Linked DNA regions of Homo sapiens: region 1 is linked to region 2. Evidence: promoter capture Hi-C in human tissues and cell types (Jung and others, 2019). All regions are on one chromosome and are shown on one strand. The core of a region is centred on a gene start or on the middle of the fragment in contact, and the rest is flanking DNA. Distances in the headings are between cores, read along the strand shown. Region 1 overlaps ASF1B (anti-silencing function 1B histone chaperone). Region 2 holds the start of PALM3 (paralemmin 3).

Region 1 (5,436 bases), core at 363-2,862, 68 kb after region 2:
GGTGCATTTAATTCATGTCCTGGGAAGGTAGACAAAAAAGACTAAAGTGTACCCACGAGCACCTGATGTTGTCCAGCTGAGGTCAATACTAATCGGCAAAACCTAAACAAAGAGCATGTGGAAACTCACCGAAATAAATGGGCCCCTGCAACATAGGCAGACTCGACTCTATTAAAAATCAACAAAATTAATTGGGTGTGGTGGCGCGTGCCGGTGGTCCCAGCTATGCGGGAGGCTAAGGTTGGAGGATCGCTTGAGCCTAGGAGTTCAGGGCTGCAGTGAGCCATGATCGAGCCACTGCATTCCAGCCTGGACGACAGAGACCCTATCTCAAAGGAAAAAAAAGAAAAAGAAAAAATGTACTGTGTTGACTGTCAGGCACAGGGGCTGAAATGGCTCTTTCAACCAGGGCTGGAAAGAAACTGGAGAATTAACTAACGGCTGTAGAGAAATACTGACTCAAGAGTTACAGAAGCTGGTTGGGCACGGCAGCTCACACCTGTAATCCTAGCACTTTGGGAGGCCGAGGCAGGCAGATTGCCTGAGCTCACGAGTTCGAGACCAACCTGGGCAACATGGTGAAACCCCATCTCTACTAAAAATATAAAAATTTAGCTGGGCATGATGGTGTGCACCTGTAATTCCAGCTACTCAGGAGTCTGAGGCATAAGAACTGCTTGAACCTGGGAGGCAGCAGAGATTGCAGTGAGCCGAGATTTTGCCACTGCACTCCAGCCTGGGCAACAGAGCCAGCCTCCGTCAAAAAAAAAAAAAAAAAAAAAAAAAAAAAAAAGAAGAAAGAAGGAAAGAAAGGAAGAAAAAAAGAGTTATAGGTATAGGGCCAGGTGAGGTGGATCATTGGATCATGGCTGTAATCCTAGCACTTTGGGAGGCTGAGGCGGGTGGATTGCTTGAGCTCAGAAGTTCGAGATCAGCCTGGGCAACATGGTGATACAAAAAATACAAAAAATTAGCCAGGCGTGGTGGCATGCCCCTGTAGTCTCAGCTACTCGGGAGGCTGAGGTTGCAGTGAACTGAGATCGTGCCTCTGCACTCCAGCCTGGGTGACAGAGTGAGACTCCATCTCTACTAAAAATATAAAAAATTAGCTGGGCGTGGTGGTGTGCACCTGTAATTCTAATTTATTTTATTTTATTTTGACATGGAGTCTCACTCTGTTGCCCAGACTAGAGTGCAGTGGCACGATCTCGGCTCACTGCAAGCTCCGCCTCCCGGGTTCATGCCATTCTTGTGCCTCAGCCTCCTAATCAGCTGGGACTACAGGCACCCCCCACCACGCCCGGCTAATTTTTTTTTCTATTTTTAGTAGAGACGGGGTTTCACTGTGTTAGCCAAGATGGTCTCGATCTCCTGACCTTGTGATCCGCCTGCCTTGGCCTCCCAAAGTGCTGGGATTACAGGCATGAGCCACTATGCCCAGTCGAGAATCATCTTAAATTTGCTGAAGTGCCCAGGCATGGTGATGTGCACCTGTGGTTCCAGCTACTTAGGAAGCTGAGGTGGGAGGACTGCTTAAGCCCAGGAGTTCAAGTCCAGTCTGGGCAACATAGTGACACCCTATCTCTTTAAAAAAAAAAAAAAAAATCTGGCTGCAGTGTTATAAGTAGAGACATACGTGTATGATTTCATCTCTAAATATAATCTTTCTTTAGAATTATACATGGGACACAAATCACCAATACAGCAGGAACTCATAGCTATGAGTACAGGACACAGCTGTACACATGACGTGTGTACCTAACCTTCTGAGCAATGTCAAGGCAACTCAACTGTGTCCCATGTTATCTCTCTGCGCTAACTTCACAAGCTAGTCCCTGTGCAAGACATACCTCCACTGTGTGTTTGTGTGTATATATATATATATATATATATAAATGATAAGACTAAAGACATGTACACAATTAGTATAGCTGAACTAGCTAAAAAGTCTGCTTCCTGCTTTTTTGTTGTTGTTTTTTTGAGACAGTCTTGCTCTGTCGCCCAGGCTGGAGTGCAATGGCGCAATCTGGGCTCACTGCAATTTCCATCTCCCGGGTTCAAGCGCTTCTCCTGCCTCAGCCTCCCAAATAGCTGGGACTACAGGCACCTGCCACCAAGCCTGGCTAACTTTTGTATTTTTAGTAGAGACAGGGTTTCACCACATTGGCCAGGCTGGTCTCAAACTCCTGACCTCAGATGATCCACCTGCCTTGGTCTCCCAAAATGCTGGGATTACAGGGGTAAGCCACTGTGCCTGGCCATTTTTTTTTTCTTTTTTTTTTTTTGAAACAGAGTCTCGCTCTGTCACCCAGGTTGGAGTGCAGTGGCACAATCTCAGCTCACTGCAACCTCTGCCTCCCGGGTTCTAGCGATTCTTCTGCCTCAGCCTCCTGAGTAGCTGGGATTATAGCTGCGTGCCACCATGCCTGGCTAATTTTTGTATTTAGTAGAGCCGGGGTTTCACCACGTCGGTTAGGCTGGTCTCGAACTCCTGACCTTGTGATCCATCCGCCTCGGCCTCCCAAAGTGCTGGGATTACAGGTGTGAGCCACCACACCTGGCTTTTTCTTTTTTTTTTTTTTTGAGATGGAGTCTTGCTTTGTTGCCCAGGTTGGGGTGCAGTGGTGCAATCTCGGCTCGCTGCAAGCTCTGCCTCCTGGGTTCACGCCATTCTCCTGCCTCAGCCTCCCGAGTAGCTGGGACTACAGGCGCCCGCCACCACACCCGGCTAATTTTTTGTATTTTTAGTAGAGACGGGGTTTCACCATGTTGGCCAGGCTGGTCTCGAACTTCTGACCTCAGGTAATCTGCCCGCCTTGGTCTCCCAAAGTGCTGGGATTACAGGCGTGAGCCACCATGCCAGGCCTCCTTTGTTTGTTTGCTTTTTGCCTTTGTTCATAATCAAAGATGAGCTCTGCTGCCATAACAACTTCGTTATTTCTGGGTCAGAACATCTGGCTTCTATGACTTATTCAACCAGTGTCTGTTGAATTTCTCAGCTAAATGTGGAAGAATCTATTTCCAGATGTGGAAGATAAAAGTGCAAAGGGGGCTTGGGGCCCCTGAGAAATAGGGGTCACCCAACTGGGGCTTAGGGGTTAGGGTGGTTTTTTTTTTTTTTTTTTTTGAGATGGGGGTCTTGCTCTCTCACCCAGGTTGGAGTGCAGTGGTGCAATCATGGCTCACTGCAGCCCTGACCTCCTGGGCTCATGCAATCCTCCCACTTCAGCCTCCTGAGTAGCTGGGACCACAGACACGTGCCACCAAGTCCCGTTAATTTTTTGATGTTTCTGTAGAGACAAGGTTTTGCTATGTTACCCAGGCTGGCCCAAATTCCTGGGCTCAAGAGATCCTCCTTCCTTAGCCTCCCAAAGTGCTGGAATTACAGGCATGAGCCACCTCACACAGCTGGGTTGGGGGTTTTGTCAGATTTTCAGTTGACGCTGCTGAGAGTGAGGCAGATTCTCCCTTTTTCATGGAGAGGAGTCCAGAAGGAGGCAGAAAGCAAGCTGGCAGATCAGTCACAGAGAGCCCTAGGACTGGAAGAGCCAGGATTTCTCACTTGAGTTACTCAAAGGAAAAGCTTTATCATCCAGGTACAATTAACAATAGCATTCTCTGGCCAGGCGCTTAGGATTCAAAGTGTAATCCCAGCACTTTGGGAGGCTGAAGTGGGCATATCACTTGCGATCAGGTTTGAGACCAGCCTGGCCAACATGGTGAAACCTCGTCTCTACTAAAGACACAAAAATTAGCCGGGCATGGTGGCTCAAGCTTGTAATCCCAACTACTTGGGATACTGAGGCCGGAGAATCGCTTGAACTCGAGAGGTGGAGATTGCAGTGAGCTGAGATTGCACCACTGCACTGTAGCCTGGGTGACATAGTGAGATTCCATTTCTAATAATAATCATCATCATCATCATAATCATACGACGGGCACGGTGGCTCACGCCTGTAATCCCAGGCCGAGGCGGGCGGATCACAAGGTCAGGAAATCGAGACCATCCTGGGTAACACAGTGAAACCCCGTCTCTACTAAAAATCCAAAAAGTTAGCTGGGCATGGTTTCGGGCGCCTGTAGTCCCAGCTACTTGGGAGATTGAGGCAGGAGAATGGCGTGAACCCGGGAGGCGGAGCTTGCAATGAGCCATGATCACGCCACTGCACTCCAGCCTGGGTGACACAGCGAGACTCCATCTCAAAAATAAATAAATAAATAAATAAATAAATAAATAATAATAATAGCACTTCCCTTCACTGCATTTTGAGTGTCCTGATTAGGCAATAAATTCTGTGGTCATTCCTATCTATGCTCCACCCCTGAAACAGGGAATCCTTCCTTTCTTTCCCTGGATTGGAGCAAAGATAAAGAATTTAGATTCAAAACTTCAGTGCCAATACTTCTACAAACTGGCTGTGTGACTCTGGTGAAGTCACTCCATTTCTATTAAAAAATGATCAGCAGAGGCTGGACGCAGTGGCTCACGCCTGTAATCCCAGCACTTTGGGAGGCTGAGGCGGGCGGATCACCTGAGGTCAGGAGTTCAAGACCAGCCTGGCCAAGATGGTGAAACCCCGTCTCTACTAAAAATACAAAAATTAGCCAGGCGTCATAGCAGGCACCTGTAATCCCAGCTGCTCGGGAGGCTGAGGCAGGAGAATCGCTTGAATCTGGGAGGTGGAGGTTGCAGTGAGCCAAGATCGCGCCATTGCACTCCAGCCTGGGGGACAAGAGCAAGACTTCATCTCCAAAAAAACAAAAAAAGGACCAGCAGGTTGAATTTAGCCCTTCCGGCTCTAATTCTATAAATAAGTTAGTAAAGTCACAGGGCAGGGGCTTCCTAGGAGTAGAAGTACCAGATAATGACCGCACAACCATTTTTTTTTTTTTTTTTTTTTTTTGAGACGGAGTCTCGCTCTGTCGCCCAGGCTGGAGTGCAGTGGCGCGATCTCGGCTCACTGCAAGCTCCGCCTCCCGGGTTCACGCCATTCTCCTGCCTCAGCCTCCCGCGTAGCTGGGACTACAGGCGCCCGCCACCACGCCCGGCTAATTTTTTGTGTTTTTTAGTAGAGACGGGGTTTCACCGTGTTAGCCAGGATGGTCTCGATCTCCTGACCTCGTGATCCGCCCGCCTCGGCCTCCCAAAGTGCTGGGATTACAGGCGTGAGCCACCGCGCTCGGCCACAACCATTTTTAAATGCAAGGAACACAAACAGGCTGATTGAAACCTGATCTCCTGCCGTCGGGGAGCTGGGAATCCCTCAACCTATTACTTCCTTCCATCTCCTCCTGGCTTTTAAATTAAATCTTATTCCACAGCGTCATTCTACACTTTATTTATTTATTTACCCGCTGCCTTGTTCCAGAAAGGATTTAACTCGGCATATTCTATAGTTAGCCACAAGTAGACTCCTTAATTTAAAAAGGAGCGAG
Region 2 (5,417 bases), core at 1,351-3,850:
AAGGAGCTATTCATGCAGGGAAAAGCTTAGGGTACAGTGCTACAAAAATAGTCCCATTGTTTATGAATAATCATAATTTATATAATTCCATGATGAATAATATGTATGATTAATTATAATAACCATCTCCAGTCCAACCTGCAGAAACTCTCAAATGCCACCAGGCCCCTAACAGGCTGTGTGCCTCTTTCTCTTCCCAGTCCCACACCCTCTCTGGACCTCAGCTCCTACCCAGAATTTCTCAAGCGCTGGGGGGGCAAGCGAGTCTGTGGCCCTCCCACTGTTGCCATGGTAACCCCAGAGCTGCCTCCTCCACCTGCTAACCCCCCTCCCTGGGGACAAGGATCACTGGGTCACTCTGCCTAGGACTGGACTCTGAGCTGGGAGGAGGGGGACTTGCCATTTAAGGTTTAACTCGAGATTCCCCTGTCATTGTCTTCCTCAAAACATCTCTACTTCTCAGCCTCCAGAGTGGCCTCTGGACCCACTTAGGCTCCCGTGGAAGCTGGAGGGTGACTGTCATACTGCAGGATGATTAGGGACAGTCAGTGTCACACCAACCTTATCAACACAGACATGCATTGGGCACCCCTGACTATGTTGCTATGTTGACCACGTGTCACAGGCCAGTATCTAGAAAGCGATGTCTCTCTGCCTGTCATCTCCACCGGCATGGACGGGCGCTGATCAAACCCTCAAACATTTATTAATTTGAACAGTCACCCTACTGGGTAAGCCTCATTGCCTGAACTCCAGCTAGGACCTTCCAGATCTTCTGTGGCCACAACGTGAAGGCTATTAGCACTTATAGTGCTATATATATGATATATATATACTATATATAGCATATAGTGTTCTAAGTGCCCCACGGGGTTTCCGCTAGGTTCCCACAGCCACCTCTGCCTCCCCCTCCCTGCCTCTATCATGACACAGTGGAGTCAACTCTTTGCTGAGTTGACATTCCAGCTAAGAACAAAATCAGCCAACCATTAGCTAGCCCGTAACACGTGCCAGGTGCAATGTAATTCACTGAATCCTCCCAACGACTCTAGGAGGTAAGCTATATGAATGTGTCCATTTTATGGATGGGAAAACTGAGGTTCTGAGAAGTGGCAGCAGTGTCCAAGGTCATGGAGCCAAGATCAGAACTTGAAGCTATCAGATCCAAAATACTGAGAACACAGCTGGCGAGGGGGGTGGGGGTGCAGGTCTAGGAATCCCCATCAAGGTAGCTAAGAGAGCAGCCTGGAGACCCTGAATGCTGTTTGGGGCAAGGAATTGAAGTCATGCTCTTTCTTTTTTTGAGTCGGAGTCTCGCTCTGTCACCCAGGCTGGAGTGCAATGGCTCAATCTCAGCTCACTGCAACCCCCGCTTCCTGGGTTCAAGTGATTCTCCTGCCTCAGCCTCCTGAGTAGCTGAGATTACAGGCGTGCACCACCAAGCCCGGCTAATTTTTGTATTTTTAGTACAGATGGGGTTTCACCATACTGGCCAGGCTGGTCTCGAACTCCTGACCTCAGGTGATCTGCCCGCCTCGGCCTCCCAAAGTGCTGGGATTACAGGCGTGAGCCACCGTGCCCGGCCACGAAGTCATGCTTTGCAAGATATCCCAAAGGAAGCCCAGATTCTGTGCTTATAGGTTTGCCCCTGGGGGAGGGCTGAAGTCCCGTGGTCTCCTGTACCACCCCCAAGATGTAATCTCCCTGCCTCTTCCTTGCTGGGGGGGATCGGGTTCCCATTGCTAAGCAACCAGGTTTGTAGTTGGTGAATAATGCAATGGAGGACCTAGAAGGGTGAGGAACCGAATTGGGGTCCCTAGTGTGGGGGGAAGCCCCTTTTCCAAAACTCTTTCCAAACCTCTGAAGCCCCCTCTACCCTTTTAACCTTAAAAAACTCTCACCCCTCAGCTATGAAAAGACTTCACACACCCCATTCCATCTTGCTTATCTCTAACTAACTCTGGAAGAACAACGTAGGCGGCCTGGGCTTCTGGCCACCCGCAAGAGTTGGTGGCCATTTCATGAAGGAGGTCATCCTTGCAATGTTGCCATTGTCTTTCTCAGGCTGGGAGCTTTTAACTTCTGTTGGATCTCAAGCCTTTTCTCCCACCTTGGACACTGACTTTAGGGGCAAAACGTGGAACCCAGTGACCCTGACCTTCCCCACTCCCTGCACCACAGCAGTAGCCCCACCCCCTGGCTGGACTTTGGGTTCTCAGCCCTGGCAGCGGAAAATCCCCGAAGAGGAAGGGGCAGGGGGAGCCTATATCTCTCTCCCACCCCTTGACTCTTTAAGGAAGGGTGACACTGATGAGCCTATGGGGTTGGCTAGCCAACCCCTCCACTCCCCGGGTCCCCTTAGGAGAGACCACTGGAGCTCTCGGCTCCCAGACAAGGCCAGCATCCCCCATGAGCCCCTCCCAAGGCCCTGCCCACCAGCCCCCCTGACCCCCCAGACACTTACATGGGTGTGGCCAGAGACCACACCTGGCTCTGCAGGGCCATCTCTGCCCAGAAGTTCACTTTCTGGTCTCCGAGTTCTGGACCCACCACCCGCTTGCCTGAAGGTGCCCCGGAGGCTGTGACTTGGCTGCCTGGAGTGGGGGGGGGCTGCGGGCGGGCACCGGGAGAGCAGGTCCAGCGGGTTTGGGCCAGGGAGGCGGTAGGCACACCAGAGAGGGGGGCTGGGGGCTGGAGGGCAGTTCTGGGGAGGTACTATCAGCTGTCCTGATAAATTATTCACCAGCCTCTGGCCTCTTTGTTGCACTCAGCTGCCTCCCGGAAAACACTTTCACACACGCGTGGTCAAGCGTGGGGGTGAGAGTACTGAGTCGGTGACTCCCCCTGCCACCAGAGAATGGCATTTCTACTTGGCACCCCAATCATCTTGAGTCTGACTGCCTGCCAAGACTCACCCACAGGAGAGCACCATTGCATAGCACACAGGCTGGAGACTGTTTTATTTTTTTAGAGATGGGGGTCTCACTCTGTTGCCCAGGCTAAAATGTAGTAGTGCGATCATAGCTCACTGCAGTTTCAGACTCCGGGGCGCAAACAATCCTCCCTCCTCGGCTTCTCAAAGTGCTGGGATTACAGGCATGAGCCACCACATCTGGCAGATAACATTTTTTAAAATTATTTTTTAAGAACAGGCACAGTGGTGCATATGTGTAATCCTAGCACTTTGGGAGGCCCAGGTGGGTGGATCACCTGAGGGCGGAGTTCGAGACTGGTCTGACCAACATGGTGAAACCCCGTCTCTGCTAAATACAAAAAAAAACTTAGCCGGGCATGGTGGTGCATGCCTGTAACCTCCGCTACTTGGGAGGCTGAGGCAGAAGAATCACTTGAACCCAGGTGGCAGAGGTTGCAGTTAGCCAAGATCGCACCATTGCACTCCAGCCTGGGCAACAAGAGCAAAACTCTGTCTAAAAAAAAAAAAATTACTTTTTGAGCCAGGCACGGTGGCTCACGCCTGTAATCCCAGCACTTTGGGAGGCCGAGGTGGGCGGATCACGAGGTCAGGAGTTTGAGACCAGCCTGGCCAACATGGAGAAAGCCTGCCTCTGCTAAAGATACACATTAGCCAGGTGTGGTGGCACACCTGTAGTCCTAGCTACTCGGGAGGTTGAGGCAGGAGAATTGCTTGTACCCAGGAGGCGGAGATTGCAGGGAGCTGAGATCATGCCACTGCACTCCAGCCTGGGTGACGGAGCAAGACTCCGTCTGAAAAAAAAAAATTACTTTTTGATCGTGGTAAAATACACATAACAAAATTTACCATTAGTGGCATTTAGTATGTTCACAATATTATGCAATCCTCACCACTGGTTCAGAATATTTTCATCAACCCAAAAGGAAGTGATCACTACTCATTCCCCTGCCTCCCGTGCCTGGCAACCACCAATCTGTGTCCATCTCTATGGATTTGCCTATTCTGGACTTTTTGTTTTTCTTTTTTGTTTGTTTGTTTTTTTAGATGGAGCCTCACTCTATCGCCCAGGCTAGAGTGCGATGGGCACAATCTTGGCTCACTGCAACCTCCACCTGCTGGGTTCAAGCAATTTTCCTGCCTCAGCCTCCCAAGTAGCTGGGATTACAGGCACCCGCCATCACGCCCAGCTAATTTTTGTATTCTTGTAGAGACAGGGTTTCACCATGTTGGCCAGGCTGGTCTTGAACTTCTGACCTCAGGTGATCCATCCTCCTTGGCCTCCCAAACTGCTGGGATTACAGGCGTCAGCCACTGTGCCCGGACTATTCTGGATAGTTCTATAAAAATGGACTCACAGGCCGGGCGCAGTGGCTCATGCCTGTAATCCCAGCATTTTGGGAGGCTGAGGTGGGCGGATTACCTGAGGTCAGGAGTTCAAGACCAGCCTGACCAACATGGAGAAACCCTATCTCTACTAAAAATACAAAATTAGCCAGGCATGGTGGTGCATACCTGTAATCTCAGCTACTTGGGAGGCTGAGGCAGGAGAATCACTTGAACCCGGGAGGCGGAGGTTGCGATGAGCCGAGATCACGCCATTGCACTCCAGCCTGGGCAACAAGAGCGAAACTCGGTCTCAACAAACAAACAAACAAAAGACTCACACACTATGTGGTCTTTTGTGTTTGGCTTCTTTCACTCAGCATCACGTTTTAAAATTTCATCCATGTAGCGTGTATTTATCGTTCCTTAATTCTTTTTTTTTTTTTTTTGAGACGGAGTCTCGCTCTGTTGCCCAGGCTGGAGTGCAGTGGTGCAATCTAGGCTCACTGCAAGCTCCGCCTCCCGGGTTCACACCATTCTCCTGCCTCAGCCTCCCAAGTAGCTGGGACTACAGGCGCCCGCCAACACACCTGGCTAATTTTTGTATTTTTAGTAGAGACGGGGTTTCACTGTGTTAGCCAGGATGGTCTCAATCTCCTGACCTCGTGATCCACCCGCCTCGGCCTCCCAAAGTGCTGGGATTACAGGCATGAGCCACCGTGCCCAGCCCCCTTAATTCCTTTTTTATGGCTGAATAATATTTCATCATATGAGTATACTATATTTTGCTGATCCATTTATCCATTGATAGACATTTGAGTTATTTCCACCTTTTGGAGGAAATAAAATATTCTATTTATTATTTATTTATTTATTTGAGACAGTCTCACTGTGTCACCCAGGCTGGACTGGAGTGCAGTGGTGCGATCTTGGCTCACTGCAACCTCTGCCCCCCAGGTTCAAGTGATTCTCCTGCCTCAGACTCCTGAGTAGCTGGGATTACAGGCATGCGCCACCATGCCTGGCTATTTTTTGTGTTTTTAGTAGAGGCGGGTTTCACCATATTGGCCAAGCTGGTCTTGAACTCCTGACCTCAAGTGATCCACCCCCCAAAGTGCTGGGATTACAGATGTGAGCCACCACATCCAGCCTATTTAAT

Evidence for each region. Contacts are between HindIII fragments. The study calls those that stand out against the background at their distance.
Region 1: a contact is called between a fragment that was not itself captured here and the fragment with the promoter of PALM3 in region 2, in 3 of the 25 tissues and cell types used here (liver, lymphoblastoid cells and thymus).

The regions. Positions count from the first base shown.
Region 1 is chr19:14,128,918-14,134,353 of GRCh38, forward strand. All of the region lies in intron 1 of ASF1B (anti-silencing function 1B histone chaperone), which reads right to left. Among named protein-coding and RNA genes, the nearest start is that of ASF1B, 5.0 kb to the right of the region's middle. The HindIII fragment of the contact is 8,412 bases long and covers 1-5,436 here.
Region 2 is chr19:14,059,476-14,064,892 of GRCh38, forward strand. It overlaps PALM3 (paralemmin 3), which reads right to left and starts at 2,601. Exons shown (of 7, transcript NM_001145028.2): 1 at 2,465-2,601. The coding sequence starts at 2,505. RefSeq lists an enhancer at 2,542-3,096. The HindIII fragment of the contact is 26,422 bases long and covers 1-5,417 here.